Regions from separate parts of the Homo sapiens genome. Here regions 2 and 3 are each linked to region 1. Evidence: promoter capture Hi-C in 16 types of primary human blood cells and fetal thymus (Javierre and others, 2016). All regions are on one chromosome and are shown on one strand. The core of a region is centred on a gene start or on the middle of the fragment in contact, and the rest is flanking DNA. Distances in the headings are between cores, read along the strand shown. Region 1 overlaps PPRC1 (PPARG related coactivator 1). Region 2 holds the start of KCNIP2-AS1 (KCNIP2 antisense RNA 1). Region 3 holds the start of PSD (pleckstrin and Sec7 domain containing).

Evidence for each region. Contacts are between HindIII fragments. The CHiCAGO score rates a contact against its expected background, and 5 or more counts as called.
Region 2: the fragment with the promoter of KCNIP2-AS1 here is called in contact with a fragment that was not itself captured in region 1 in 7 of 17 cell types (naive B cells, total CD8 T cells, total B cells and 4 more); the score reaches 11.8 in naive B cells.
Region 3: a contact is called between the fragment with the promoter of PSD here and a fragment that was not itself captured in region 1, in 6 of 17 cell types (endothelial precursors, M1 macrophages, erythroblasts and 3 more). The highest score is 9.3, in endothelial precursors.

Annotation. Positions count from the first base shown.
Region 1 is chr10:102,146,910-102,149,523 of GRCh38, reverse strand. It overlaps PPRC1 (PPARG related coactivator 1), which reads right to left. Exons shown (of 14, transcript NM_015062.5): 9 at 2,132-2,614; 10 at 1,003-1,152; 11 at 830-896; 12 at 586-707; 13 at 195-346. Among named protein-coding and RNA genes, the nearest start is that of NOLC1, 4.2 kb to the left of the region's middle. The HindIII fragment of the contact is 1,480 bases long and covers 583-2,062 here.
Region 2 is chr10:101,817,787-101,820,400 of GRCh38, reverse strand. It overlaps KCNIP2-AS1 (KCNIP2 antisense RNA 1), which reads right to left and starts at 1,333. Exons shown (of 3, transcript NR_045118.1): 1 at 1,153-1,333. It overlaps OGA (O-GlcNAcase), which reads left to right and starts at 1,957. Exons shown (of 16, transcript NM_012215.5): 1 at 1,957-2,577. The coding sequence starts at 2,379. RefSeq lists enhancers at 1,928-2,047, 1,849-2,424 and silencers at 2,198-2,257, 2,338-2,397. The HindIII fragment of the contact is 3,022 bases long and covers 1-1,878 here.
Region 3 is chr10:102,417,457-102,420,070 of GRCh38, reverse strand. PSD (pleckstrin and Sec7 domain containing) reads left to right here and starts at 1,286. Exons shown (of 17, transcript NM_002779.5): 1 at 1,286-1,370. The HindIII fragment of the contact is 10,611 bases long and covers 1-2,614 here.

The DNA of each region.
Region 1 (2,614 bases), core at 73-2,572:
CCTGACCTCGTGATTTGCCTGCCTCAGCCTCCCAAAGTGCTGGGATTACAGGCGTGAGCCACCATGCCCAGCCCCCTTGGGTTCTTTGTATGTCAAACTAAGGTAAGTCTGCCTAGCCCCACTCACAAAGGGTTAGGAACCCTTCTGGGGAGGGGATGAAGCATTCCAAAGCTTTAGGCCCTCCCTCCACTCACCAAGATCAGAATAGCTCCTCTTGCAGAACTGCCTTCGGCCCCCAAAGCAGAGATCAAAGGGCTGCTCATCTGCCTGCCGCAGCTTGTGGCCACTCTCAATGGCTGCAAATGCCTCCTCAGCATAGCGATAAGTGACGAAGCCGTAGTTGTCCCTAGTAGGAGGAGAGTGAGGCAGGGGCTGGAGTGGCTATATGGGCCCATGCCATAGAGGAGACACAGCATCCCAAGGTACAGAGGTGGTTCTTCTCATTCCCAGTGGCCAACCCTCTGACTGCAGAAATGAAGGTGCCCCATATTGCTCAGCACACCAGAGCAAGGAGGCAAGACAAAGAAACACCAAGGTAGATGAATGGGATAGAAAGAACATCCTGAGCCTGGGGCCCAAGCTTACCCTTGGACACGGAAGTGGATGGTGCACTCCTCAATCTCTCCAAAAACGGAGAACCTCTGTTTCAGCTCTGATCGAGTCATGCGGCCAGGTATCTTTCCAATGAAGACCACCCTTCTTTCTTCCTATGTTTGGAAATGAAAAAAAATCAACACACCATTAGCCAGGGCTACAGCTGCAGGCAGCTCTCTGAGCTCAAGGCTCAGGGGGTAAGCCCCATCCTCCCATGATCTGTTCCTCTACTCACTATTGCACGCTCCTTTTGTAGCACTCTTTGCCTTTGGTAATGGTCATGTGAACGATAAGAGCTGTACCTGACAAAAGAGGGTGTCATCAGCCCCCCAAACATAAGACAATTCAAGACTCAACTCTTAGGCACCTGCATCCCAGGTGCATGGCGCTCCCTGAACACATGCTCACCGCCGCCTCCTGTCACTTCTCCGGCGGGGGGATGGGGATCGTGAGCGGCTTCGAGAACTGGATGATGAGGATGAGGAAGACGAAGAGGAAGATGATGACGAAGAAGAGGAAGAGCATCTTCGAGAACGTCCAGAGGAACTACAGCTGGACCTGAAGGATAAGAGGGCATGCAGGAATGCTGGGAGTGGTTCAGGTATACTCTGCTTATCTCACCCAGGCCCCAGTCCTGCCTTTCTTTTAGGAAGCTCAGGACCAAAGACAAAGCAGAGTAGAAGAGGTCTAGAAGAACAATTTTCATTCAGAGATGAACAAACTGAGGCCCTTCATGGAACTTTAGGTGTACCTGGAATGTTGTGAAGTGTTTTGGAAGAGATCACATTTTCAATTGTGCACTTAAAAATTGAAAAATATTTAACAAATCAGAAAGAGGAAGAACAATAAATGGAGACTCAGGGAGAGGGGTGAGCCCTAGGTCTCACACCCAGCTATCTGTGGTGCTGGGGCCAAGCCTGGGTCTTTTGGGTTACTATTGCTCCCCTACCAGGTCTCACTGAAATACTGTGACCATGAGAGAGGTTAACTGCTAGACTTGTAGTATGGGCCAGTTCTGAAGACATATATCATCTCCAAAACCCAAGAATTCTTCATTAAGTGGGAAAACTTGGTTACTGAGAAAAAAAGATACTGCCAGGAAATAGATGAGGCCATAGTGACACCCAAAGGAACTGCCCCAGACACCTTCCTCAGCAGATGATTAAGGGAAGAACTATTTTCTATTAACAAGTAACCCACTACCTCACATAGCGCCCAGAATACCAAAAATGAAGGCTGATACAGTATGTGAAAAAAATCAACATGGTCAAAATCAAACCCTAAAAGTCTCCCCAAGGCAGGTCTCAAAGAAGCAGGAGACCTGACACCCCAAGCTCCAACAGGGGACAGAAGCAATTGTCTCACAGCTTGCCTCCTTCAACAATCCAGGAAAAGGGAAAACACAAAAGCCAAAGTCAGAAATAGAAGCCTTAGCGCCTGAAAGTACCAAAGTCAACGGGTAAAAGCTTTCAAAGTAAACCACAGAAGTACGTGAACTTCCTAAATGGAGAGGACCTACAGGGCCATCAAAGCTCACCTTCGCCACCTCTTGTGTGGGGGGGAGAGGGACCTGGACCGAGATCGGGATGAGGAAGACGATGATGAGGATGAGGAAGATGCTTCGCTAGTCCGGTTGGACCCAGAGCTGACAGAACGGCTGTTGCGGCCTCGGCGGCCCTGCCAGCCCTGGCTTGAGGGGCTGGCTGACCTGCAGGCTTTTCGGTAACAGCGCATTGACCGCTGCTTGGCTGAGGGTTCAGGGGGAGTCCTAGTGTTCATGTCATTCCGGCAGGGTGAGGCCTCAGGGGACAGCAAGCTGGATGGGGCAAGGCAGGGTGCTGAGGGATCTGCCTGCTCACTGCTAGTCCTGTGATCAAGCGGCTCCCGGGAGGCAGCTATGCATGGGGGCGGAGGGGCAGCTGGGCCCAAGGACAAGACAGGTTTGATGGTGATGTCCTGATGGCGCTTGACATTCCATCGGGAGCCCACCTCTGGAATGACTAGGGCAGGCATCTTTTTT
Region 2 (2,614 bases), core at 84-2,583, 330 kb after region 1:
GCCCAGCCATCTGGGCCTGATAATTTAAAAGGACTCTCATTCCTCAGATAAAAGTTCTTTTCGGCCAGGTGAGGTGGCACGTGTCTGTAATCCCAGCACTTTGGGAGGCTGAGACTGGAGGATCACCTGAGCCCAAGAGTTTGAGACCAGCTTGGGCAAGATGTTGAGACCCCCGTCTCTACCAAAAATGAACAAATTAAAAGAGTGTGGTGGCGGGCACTCGCCTATAGTCCCAGCTACTCGGGATGGCTAAGGCGGGAAGATCCCTTGAGAGCCCAGGAATTCGATACTTAAGCTATGATTGCACTAGCCTGCGTGGCAAAATGAGACCTCTTCTCTTACAAAAAAAAAAAAAAAAAAAAAATTGTGTTCTCAACCCCAACGGACCACAATATCCAGTAAAGCTGCTATGGCCCCTAACTCTCAGCACAGGAGGTCCCTTAAGAAAATGCTTGTCCGGCCGGGCGCGGTGGCTCACACCTGTAATCCCAGCACTTTGGGAGGCCGAGGCAGGTGGATCACCTGAGGTCAGGAGTTCAAGACTAGCCTAGTCAACGTGGCGAAACCCCGTCTCTATTAAAAACACAAAATTAGCCGGGTGTGGTGGCGGGTGCCTGTAGTCTCAGCTACTCGAGAGGTTGAGGCAGGAGAATAGCCTGAGCCCAGGAGGTGAAGGCTGCAGTGAGCCGAGATTGCGCCACTGCGCTCCTGCGCTCCAGCCTGGGCGACAGAGTGAAACTCTGTCTCAAAAAAAAAAAAAAAGTTTGCTCCTAACCCCCATCTCAACAATCCAGGACTGAAAAGAAGAGGGACCATGAAAGTCCCTGAAACTACAAGTTGGGCTACGGCTAAAGAAGGTAAATATCAGACTGAAGTGTAAGATGGACATTACTAAGTCTTAATCATCATTTCATGTTTATACCTCACAGGTTGAGATAGATTTCTCAAGCATCATAAATGTAAAGTGCATTAGGGTAGGTCTACAAGAGAGCTCTGAGAACATACAGCAAGGAGACCCAAACCCATCTAGGGCTCAGGGAAGGCTTCCCAAGGAAGCGATGCCCATGCCGAGGCCGAAGGGATCTCATGCCCCACTGCACACACCGCGCGCTCCCCATTCCCAAACAAGGCAGGCTTTTCATGCCTCCCTACCTTTGGACTCTGTTGTTCGTTCCACTTTCCTGGAGTGCTGTCTTCCCTCCCCTTCTGCTCAGTCAGGCTAACTTCACATCCTTTATAATCCAGCTGAAAAGTGAAGCCATGCCCACGGCCTCTCCCCAAAGGAGGAGTGAGTATCACCTGTTCTGAGCTCCGAAGTTCTTGGGGACACCTTGTGGGAACTGCGTGTGTGGTGGCTTGTCTCCACCACCGTACTGTGAGCTCATAGTGTTCTAGAGCCCAGCACGAGGCAAGCTCTATAGATGTCTACTGAATGAAGGAATGAACGAATGATTACATTTTAAATGGGATTAGGGGAAAATGATTCAAGGCAGAGGGGTGAGCTGAGCTCCTTGGAATGGTGTCTTTACCGAACCAAGCCTGGGTTAGGCAGATGTAATGAGCCCACCTATTACAAGAATCTCCATAGAAAGTAGGTCAGTTCTTTCCTATCTCTTTAAGAACGAGAGGCCGCGGCTCCGCGCCTGCGCACTGAGAGAATAAACACCTCTCCTTTTCACCTTCCCCCCTTCTCCCTATTGCCCCAACCGGCGGCAGCCTCCTCCCATACTCCCCTCCTTCGGGGCGGGTAATGGTCCGTCCGTCCCAGGGTGCCAGGCTTGTTTCGGAGGGTGGCAAGCAGAAATGGTACATTCCACTGCCTTCATTACCTTCTGCTTTTCGCGTCTCCTGTTCTATTTCCCCCTACCTAAAGAAGCTTAATAGGCTAGCCCCAAAGAAGGCGGGGGAGCCGGGCGGAGGGGACCGGTCTGAGCCGGTCTGCAGCGCAAGCGCAGTGCGGATAAACAGGAAGCGGGCGGTGGAGGCAGCAGCAGAGGGAGAGCTCGGGGCTTGGAGGGGAAACAGCGGAAGACCTAAGATTATCGGGAGGGCAGCAGAGGCAGAGAACGAGGACAGGACCCTTGGCCGTCTTCTTCCAGGGAACGAGAGGTCACAGCCTCGCTCTCCGCTTAGGCTTCTGGCGCCCCAGCTTAAAGCCGAGGCTGCGGCTGACAAAGGGCTCGCGCCGGTGCCGCCGCCCTTCTCATCCGGGCATTCGGGTCCCTGCGGAGAGGGAGGGGGAAGGGCAGAGGGGGAGGGGAAGGAGCCGGAGGGGCGCACACTTGGAGCTGAAGCCCTCTCCAGGGCTCCGGGCCGGTGCCCCAACGGACAGAGGTCGAGGAGGACCCGCAGAGGTGGCAGCGGCCGGGGGCAGGAGGATGGTGCAGAAGGAGAGTCAAGCGACGTTGGAGGAGCGGGAGAGCGAGCTCAGCTCCAACCCTGCCGCCTCTGCGGGGGCATCGCTGGAGCCGCCGGCAGCTCCGGCACCCGGAGAAGACAACCCCGCCGGGGCTGGGGGAGCGGCGGTGGCCGGGGCTGCAGGAGGGGCTCGGCGGTTCCTCTGCGGTGTGGTGGAAGGTGAGCGCCCTCCTTCCCTCCCCGTTTTGGCACTAAC
Region 3 (2,614 bases), core at 37-2,536, 270 kb before region 1:
CTATGCTATCAGTCCATTTTAAAGATGGGGAAACCGAGGCCCTGGAGAGGAAGCCCCTTGTCCAGAATCAAGCCAGACGGGAATAGAGAACCCAGACATCTGGTTTTCCCAGAATTCCTTCCACGTTTCCCCACCCCGCAAGGCAGCGAGAAGGGAGAAGCTAGCAGCGGGGAGAGACAAGAAAGGGGTCAAGTTAGGTGAGGGCTTGCTATCTCTTCTTCCTCAGCCTGCTTAGGGAGGGGGTAGCTGGGAGGACAGACCCCTGCAAAGATAGAGCCACGTGAGCGCGCACCACCTCCGGCCGCGCGCCTCGTCCCCCTCCCCTCTTTGTTCGCGCCTCTGCGCCTGCGCAGTGCGACAAATCTGGCGCTGTCCCCTTCAGCACCACGCGGAGTCCGCGCCGCCCCTCCCCGCGGTGAGCCCCGCGCGCCCCCGCCTCGCACGTCCTCGCGCCCCCTGACTGCCCGAACAGACCCCTTCTTCCTTCCGAGGTCACCATCTGCCCGCCCTGGCCCTCCCAAAGAGAGTAGTTGCCATAGTAACTCCAGCGGCTCTTTCTTAAAATAGCAGGGCCCCCTTCTACCCTGGCCAAGGGCACAAGGGTTGCCGGTCCCCCACGTCTTCCGGTCCCTAGTTCATCCCGTCTAACCTCTTACCCCTGGGCAGGCGTGACGACACCTAACTCAGGCAGCAAGGAAGTTCTTCCTGAAGTCTGATTTAACATCCCCCTGCTGCATCCTGGGAGGGTGGTCAGGGTTGGATCTCCTGGGTCCGAGACTCAAAACCCCTGGCGGGTTCAAGACGGTGTTCCCTAGATCTCCTTTCCATAGTTGATGGTCTCCTGGATTTAGGGGGCGGGTCCAGTCTACACCCATACCGTGTGCTTGGCGCGGCCGCGTGCTCGTGGGGGCGGGAGCGCGTGTGGCATGTAACAGGTCATGTGGCAGCCTCCTAGGGACACGCGTGGGGTCTGGAGCGGGACACGCGTGTGCAGCCGGGCCTTACGTGTGGCTCAAGGGGCGGTGGGCGAGAGAGACGTGGACACAAGTGGGGTGGGGCACGTGAGGGTCTGGGGAATAGAACCAGGGGTTCCATGCGCCCTCCTCCTTGTCTGGGGCGGGTCTTAGGTTGGCGGGAGAGCCCAGCGGGGACCTAGCGACAAGGGGGGCTGGCAGCCTCCGGGGCTCTGGGCCCTGGGAGAGGGCGGGGGGTGGGGGGGATTAGCGTTGCCTGAGCGGCGCGTAGGGGGTAGGGGGAGGGACTGAGAGGCGGGCGGGCCTGGAGCAAACGGGAGCCGCGCTGCCTTCACAGCTCAGCTGGGCCCAGCCTCTCCTCTGTCTCTCCTCGGTCTCAGCTCTGGGCGAGCAGCGGTGAGTACTGAGGTGGCATTGAGTTGGGGCTGCACCGGGTATGCGCTGGGACCCCGTTGAGCTTCCGGAACCTGCCTGGCAGGGTTGCTACTCCTGACCTCTGCCCCTCCCCTGCATTGCCACCAGAGGCCCCTTTACCTGGTTATGGTCTCTCCTGGGCGGGATCTGTCTTACCCCTGGGGAGAGAGGGAGAGGAGAGGAATATGGGTGCAGATTCCCCTCAAGAGACCCCAGTAGGTGGGGGGGAGGGGACGGTGTGTGTCCCTGCTTGAGTGTGTACATCTGTATGTGTACATCTGTATGTGTATGTGACTGTGAGCAGTAGGTCTCTGTGAGTGTCTGATACACCTGGACCTCTGTGTGCACTGGAGAATGACAGCTTGTGTATATATTTGGGTACCTCTTTGTGTGTTCCTGTTTGATGATGGTGTGTGTGTAAAACAAGCATGTGCCTTTTCATTACACACATACTTGTTATGACTGTGAGAGTGCATGAGGGTGTGTCTTTGAGCAGTGTGTGTGTGTGTGTGTCTGTGTGTGTGCCAGAGGGTGTTGCCTATGAATGTGTTTAACTGTGTACTGACATATTTGTCCTTATGTATGTGTGTGCGTGTGTGTGTGTGTGTGTGTGTGTGTGTGTTTGTGTGTGTGTAGGTGCCTGTCTGTACCTGTATGAAGAAAAGAATGTCCCTGGCCGGGTGCGGTGGCTCACGCCTGTAATCCCAACACTTTGGGAGGCCAAAGTGGGTGGATCCCCTGAGGTCAGGAGTTTGAAACTAGCCTGGACAACATGGTGAAACTCCATCTCTACTAAAAATACAAAAATTAGCCAGGCATAGTGCTGAGCGCCTGTAATCCAAGCTATTCAGGAGTCTGAGGCAGGAGAATCACTTGAACTTGGGAGGCGGAGGTTGCAGTGAGCTGAGATAGCGCCATTCCACTCCAGCCTGGGCAGCAGGGGCGAAACTCCATCTCAAAAAAAAAAAAAAAAAAGAAGAATGTCCCTTTCCCACTCAGTATGTATATATTGGGGGTAGGAGCCTCTGCTCAGGCTTTTCTCCCCACTTCCATGCTGTGCCTCTCAGCCCTTCAGCATCCCTATATAACACCTGTTCCTCTTCCCTCTCCTTCCAGGAGGCCTGAGTTTCCCTTCCCTGAGTGAGGGGCCTCCATAAGAGAGACTATAGGGGTCACAGGGCTGTATGATGGTGACAGCTGGCTGACACCCCTTTTCCAGAGGGTGG